2 separate regions of the Homo sapiens genome follow, and region 1 is linked to region 2. Evidence: promoter capture Hi-C in 16 types of primary human blood cells and fetal thymus (Javierre and others, 2016). All regions are on one chromosome and are shown on one strand. The core of a region is centred on a gene start or on the middle of the fragment in contact, and the rest is flanking DNA. Distances in the headings are between cores, read along the strand shown.

What was found. The method cuts DNA at HindIII sites, captures the fragments that hold promoters and counts their contacts. A CHiCAGO score of 5 or more calls a contact.
Region 1: a contact is called between a fragment that was not itself captured here and the fragment with the promoter of FN1 in region 2, in 1 of 17 cell types (total CD4 T cells). The highest score is 5.9, in total CD4 T cells.

The regions. Positions count from the first base shown.
Region 1 is chr2:213,241,310-213,244,427 of GRCh38, forward strand. No RefSeq gene overlaps it. Among named protein-coding and RNA genes, the nearest start is that of SPAG16-DT, 41 kb to the right of the region's middle. The HindIII fragment of the contact is 4,627 bases long and covers 1-3,118 here.
Region 2 is chr2:215,434,267-215,437,375 of GRCh38, forward strand. It overlaps FN1 (fibronectin 1), which reads right to left and starts at 1,802. Exons shown (of 46, transcript NM_212482.4): 1 at 1,389-1,802; 2 at 430-558. The coding sequence starts at 1,536. It overlaps FN1-DT (FN1 divergent transcript), which reads left to right and starts at 1,425. Exons shown (of 2, transcript NR_187198.1): 1 at 1,425-2,043; 2 at 2,653-3,109. RefSeq lists an enhancer at 1-313 and silencers at 1,826-1,885, 1,896-1,985. The HindIII fragment of the contact is 4,490 bases long and covers 1-3,109 here.

The sequences.
Region 1 (3,118 bases), core at 576-3,075, 2.2 Mb before region 2:
ATCAGATACATACTTTAAAAATAATCAATCAGAAATGACTGGCAAGTGACTGAAGATGCAGGGTTTGCTGCAATAAGAGGTATCAGATGTGAAGCAATCCTGATGTTTTAATATTGGCCAGCTATACACATTCCTATCTATTGTATTTGTTGTATATGGCTTATGGTTTTTTAAGATATAGGTGCAGTAAACAGTAGAGATCAAGAAAAAAAGTGTTTTGAGTTAAGTAGATTAATACAAATAAATCCTGAATGGTGACTGCTGATTTGTTTCAGTTCTTTTGATGTATTTTCACTTGTTTAAATGAGAGCTCCTAGAACAGATATTGGTTACAGATACTGGCACTTAACTTAGAAGCACATGTCATTGAATGACCTATGGGAAATAAACTTTTACCATGCTTTTAGAACTGATATTAGCAAGCAGTTGTCTAAGCTATATTTTTTCTCTGAATCTGCTAATTTTCATGACAACTATATTTGGTCAAGAAAATATACTATTGAAGTGATGCAACACTTCATCACTTTTCCCCCCATCTGACCTGTTTGCCTTGTTGCAACAACATTTTCAGTTTTATACCCGCAGACCATCATCCCATGCGTAGACCCTGATATTTGAAGTCAATGTTATTTCAACAACTGCATGGTTCGCGAAGGCTAGGGCGGGACGTGGAGACCCTACAAAACACTGGCTGTATGATGAGGAGAGATTCAGCAGCAAGTGGAGACCAGGTAGATAGGCAAATCTCAGAATCAAGAGGGTTTTGGCAAGAAACATTAGCCAGAAATCTATGCAGTGTAAGAGTCAAAGGGAAGAAGGTAGCTATGGACATTGGGGCTTAGAAGAAAATCTGAAGTATTAAGCAAGTGTTAGAAGAATAAGTCTGCATCTTAGTCCTAGAGCAACTACAATCCTGGATGAGAACCAAAGCAGAAGTATGGGCAGAAAGGCAGAGACCAGAATCCTCGACCAGGAGTGGGGACAAAATATCTGGTCTTAAGTGTCAAGAAGCTAAGTTTTAGAAGCTGGGTTTAAGGTCAGAATGAGACTTGATTCTGAGCTTACTCCTGGGATTCTTACAATCTTCCTGTCTAGCACCAAAGATCTGTTCCAATATCAGATACTAGAAGTCAGAGAATTTAGTTGACCTGTTCAAGATCACAAGCTAATTAGTGCTGGGGACAAAATTAGATTCCAAGTTTTCAATTCTCACACCAGGGCTCATTAGAACATGATCTGAATGAATCAGAAATGCAGATAGATATATTTAATTGTTTTTGATATGTTCATTTGTCACTACTGTTTCATAACTGCAAAGAGAATTAAAAATTTAGATCAGATTATGGAACAGATAAATTGAAGTAATTCATAGACCTATCTTGTAAAATATATATACATTTGTCTTGCAAAGGCTCAGAATTGACTGATTTTTCTGATTATTATTTATACATCTCAATGAGTTGAATATAGATGGATTCATTATAGATGGTTAATAATTATGTGATTTTCAGGTCAGAAAATTCCATTACCAGCAAATTGCTGAATAAGACATAATTTCATATATTCATCTTACTGATAGGTTTTTCTTTTTCTTTCTTTCATTATACAAAGTTGATATTAAAGAATTCTGGAGATTTTGTGTCTTGGTTTAAACTTTATTGATCTTTTATTGCCTTTATTTACGAAGTCTTTGAATTAAAAGTCTATATGGGATAAATTCTTATATTATTTGAAAATCAACCATTATCTAAAGTTATTTATGCTTTATCCAGTCATAATTAAATTTATAATTTTATGTTCTGTTTTTGTCTTATAACCTTTAAAGTTAGCATCATAGACCCTTTTTTCATACTGGAAATCGCCAACTGTTGTTTTCATTCTTGAAATTATTGCACTTCAGTCTTGCAGAATTGATATAAAGGAACTAATTTTTTGCATTAATCAAAACATAAAAACCAGTAATATTTCAGGATTGTACAAAATTTATCAGATAGTGGTACCAGCTGATGAACTGTAGTATTACAGCCCAGCTGCCTTAGATATCTCTGGGTTTTGTTTGTTTTTAAGCAGAATTGATTTTTTAAACTGTTGAATCATTGAGCTTTCTGGCCTTCATGGGTCCAGGACATTGATATTACAGTTTCATTTTACTACACAGAACCACACTGAAGAATTAAGGTGAACCTTAGACGGAGGTAGAAACTAACCTCTGAAAATCAAAGTGCTTACAGGAAGCTGCAGGTGTGGGGAGTGGGAGGAGAATGTGCCAAGGCAAGGGGAAGGGAGAGGTTTTTGAGGGAATTTCCGCCACTGAGAATATGAAGTCAGACAATTCACAGTAATAGGAGTTTTTTTGCTTTTTTTTACAAACCAAAAACAGGGAAGAAAAGAAAAGGTCAAAAATAAATGGCACGTCCAGAGACTGGGAAAGAGCTAGAAAGACGACAAAATATTACGTGATGATATCTATTAAATATATCCAAGTTGAAGTCTACACCCTTGCTACTGAAAGTGTGGCACAAGAACTAGCAACATCAGCACCAGATGGGAACTTGTCAGAAACGCAGACTCCTGGGCCCCAACCTAGAAAGATCAAACCAAGATCTGCATTTTGACAATAGCCTCCAGGCTGGTAGAATGCACATTCAGATTTGAGAGTAAAGTTTGGGGAACCTTTTTTTTTTTTTTTTAACATCAACATGAATAGAAATATACATTTAAAGTTATCAAAATTACTAGGAAATTTTTATTTAATGTTCAAATTTCACATTTTAAAATGATGAATAAATATTAGAAATCTTATCAAAATCTGTTTTACTTCTCTCAATTTTCTTCTTATAAAATTATCAAGGTATTTATAAAGCATGTTTAGTTAAAAGCACCCCATTATGTGTTTTATCATATTAAAACATTTTAATTTTTAATTGATTAAAATGAACTATGAGCCTGCTCTCTAAGTTGAAATTACATTTCTTCCTAAGTTTTGTGGCTGGATGATGCTGTTCTTTTACAACATTATTTTAAATAAATGTGTGAATACAAAGCACTGAGCTTGTTTTAAATACTCTACAAACCTGACAATGTTCTTTTTCTTGATCTGGTTACACGAGTGTGTTCA
Region 2 (3,109 bases), core at 552-3,051:
ACTTTGAAGTGGCTAATGGTTTTGTGTTAACTGCCGCTGACAAATCATTTTACGATGTAAGTCCCCAAAGTGTTTTCTGGCTCATAAACTAACAGTTTAAGATTTGAGACTGCTTTCTAATAAATTAAAATTTTATAAGCAATTTTTTTTGTCGGAGGACACACAAAATCTTTCATTTTTCTCATCAAAAACTTTGGGAGAGTAAAGCAAAAAGAAGACTCTAGGAACTAATTTGGGAAAGATTCGTTTCTTTGTTTTAAAGGTAAAAGCATGTGAAAAGCAAATATAAGCAGTTTTTAAACTTAAGAGGAAATGACAGGTAATTCTATTAGAAAAATGGTGTATGTATTTTTACTTACTAATGCAAAGTTTAACAATTACCACTTCATGTATTAAAAGATACTAACTATGGGGCTTGTTGTCACTTACCTTCAGGTTTACTCTCGCAGTTAAAACCTCGGCTTCCTCCATAACAAGTACAAACCAACGCATTGCCTAGGTAGGTCCGCTCCCACTGTTGATTTATCTGATAGTGTTTTCCATTGTCATAACAACCGGCTGCAAATAATTGAAGGAAAACGTTACATTTGCATTTCTCCTTTTCCCAAAATTATGGAATTTTCTTCATGTGAATATTGACGTACATATTTTTTTCCTTTTAACTTTGCTAAAAGTTATATACAATGATGTCATTTCCATCTGGCCAGGGGTCTACATAAAAAAGTTGGAAACATTTTGGAAGGCAGACAATTGAAGTCACATTTTTAAAACATGCAAGGAACTTAAATATTCTTTTGGAGTAATAGTCAAAAAGGACAACTTTAAGCAGCTTTCTCAAAGCAAAAGGAGGGTGTGTCTTTGAAAAACGGAAAGAATTCCAACCTCTGTTCTTGGTGAAGTATCCTGAGCGGCCCTAAAGAGGTCTGAACCAATTACATCTCTTCCAAGTTAGTTAGAAACAAGACAGCTATTTCAATACCCCCTTTCCACCCCCATGTTGAAAATATTTGACCAATTATTTAACAGAAGGAAATAAGTAGCAGTAAGGACCACACTAATCCCAGACGGAAAATTTATAGACATGCATCATTTTTCTCTTTAAAGGCAAGTTTTGGTTAATTCCTAGAAGGACAATCTGAACGTGCAGAATTTATTAGAACACGGGAAAGTCGCAGAGTCCTCGTCCTCCAATGCACGGTCTTATCATCCCAGGCCCTCAGAACCAGCGTGCTCAAAACTCGGTCCTTTTGTGTGCACAGCTGGTTTCTCTCAGTAAAGCGCGCACACACTCGCACACACGCGCGCGCACAAAACTTCAGCCCCAACTTTGGTCGGCTTTAGGGTCCCATCCCTGAGGCAGCCTGTTTCAGCCCGCGGTCAGTACTCACGCTTGCTTTGACTGACAGCCACCGGGGACTGGGGCTGAACCATTTGCTGAGCCTGCCTCTTGCTCTTCGAGGCTCCCGTGGAGGGCACCGCTGTCCCCAGGCACTGGACGGCCAGCAGCAGCAGCCCGGGCCCCGGACCCCTAAGCATGTTGAGACGGTGGGGGAGAGACGCCCGCACCGGGAGGCAAGTTGCCACCAAGTTTGCTTCCCTTCGCAACCTGCGGGAAAAATCCCTTCTAATGCCTCCCGGGGGTTGTCGCCTCCAAGAAGGTGGGGGCCAGAGGGTGGGGAAGGGGACGGGTGGAGGGACAGAAGGGATGCAGAGGACCAGAGAAGTTGTGGCTGCAGGTCCCCTCTTCCCGCTCGCGCCTGGGGTTCCCTCTCCTCCCCCTGTGCAGCACAGCCGGCGCGGGCGTCCGAGCGCCGGGAGCCGGGGCTTATATGGGACGGTCCCCTCCCGCCCCTCTGGAGGCCCGGGGCGCGGGGGAGGAGAGACCCGCCGGGCTGTCCCCGCCCCGCCCCACCCCACCCGCCCGCCCGCCCGCCGGCCGCCGCAGCCGACCGCGCGCCGATTGGCCCGGGCTCCGGGTGACGTCACGGGGGACTGTGGGTTCGCAGCGAACAAAAGAGATGCTGATGGCCCGCCAGGACTGGGGCAAGACAACTTTTTTTCGGTTTCCTTTGCGGTCATCAAACTTTTTAGGGGATGGGGGAAGGGATGGGAAGCGGCTGGGAGGAAAGGGAGTGGCTGGACTTGTGTGAAGCGAAGGGGTTGCAAGACGCTCCCCCTTCCCTTTTCTTTTTTATTGGGGGTGGTGGTAGTGTTTGAGGACATTGCGTCACCTCTCTTCGGGGTGGAGGGGGGGAATCTCTGCTTATAGGAGTGTATTTTGTGAGGAAGAAAACCCATAAAATATCCACGACCTTGCAGCTGTTAAGAATCCAGACTTTTCAGTCCCAGGGCGGGGCTGCCTTTCCCCCCATCCCGCTCCCTTTCTTTGGACTAAAGGGTACTGACTCGGGACTCCCTTATTTTGTCTTCACAGCTCCCTGTTCGGACTTCTTCCCTTCTCAGCGCTGTGCCTGTCTGGCTCTGAGAAAGGGCCAGCGGGCGAACGGGGAGCAAAGGGGAACAGAGACCTTTAATGAGCTTCTACTAAGTACCGGGAGTTCCGCGGGGCGCTTTGCAGATCCCGGGGAAGTTCAGAGAATGAAGTTTTCTTTTGCAAGGACAAAGTAACAGTTTACTTTTTTACACATGCAGGAAAGCCTTCCTTTCCTGGGGATGGGACGCCCGTTTCCACTGAAAGTGAAATCACTGTGAACAACCTGAAAATTGGAAAGTTGGACCAGCTGTGGGGAGAGAAAGGTCTTCGTGTCCTTTCCCACGTTCACCGTGCCAGTTACACACAAAGCAGAGATTTTTTTGCTTGAATCATTAAAAGCCGGGTGGGTGGGGGGCACCCTATGTACTGTCTTGCCCTCCTTCGGCCCCTTTCTCACATTTATTTGCCATTTTCTTTTTGCTGACAAGTTCCATTACAGAATGCCCCCTCCATCCCCCGCCGCCAGATTTTTTATATTTCAATTGTTATTTACTCCAAGAGTGTGGAAAGTTCTCCTTTAAGATTCCCCCGCCTTGAACTCTAAACTCAGAGTGGAAAGGGAATCTGAAAAGTCTCTCATTTAGCAACACATCACATCAGTCCTTTTTGTCAGAT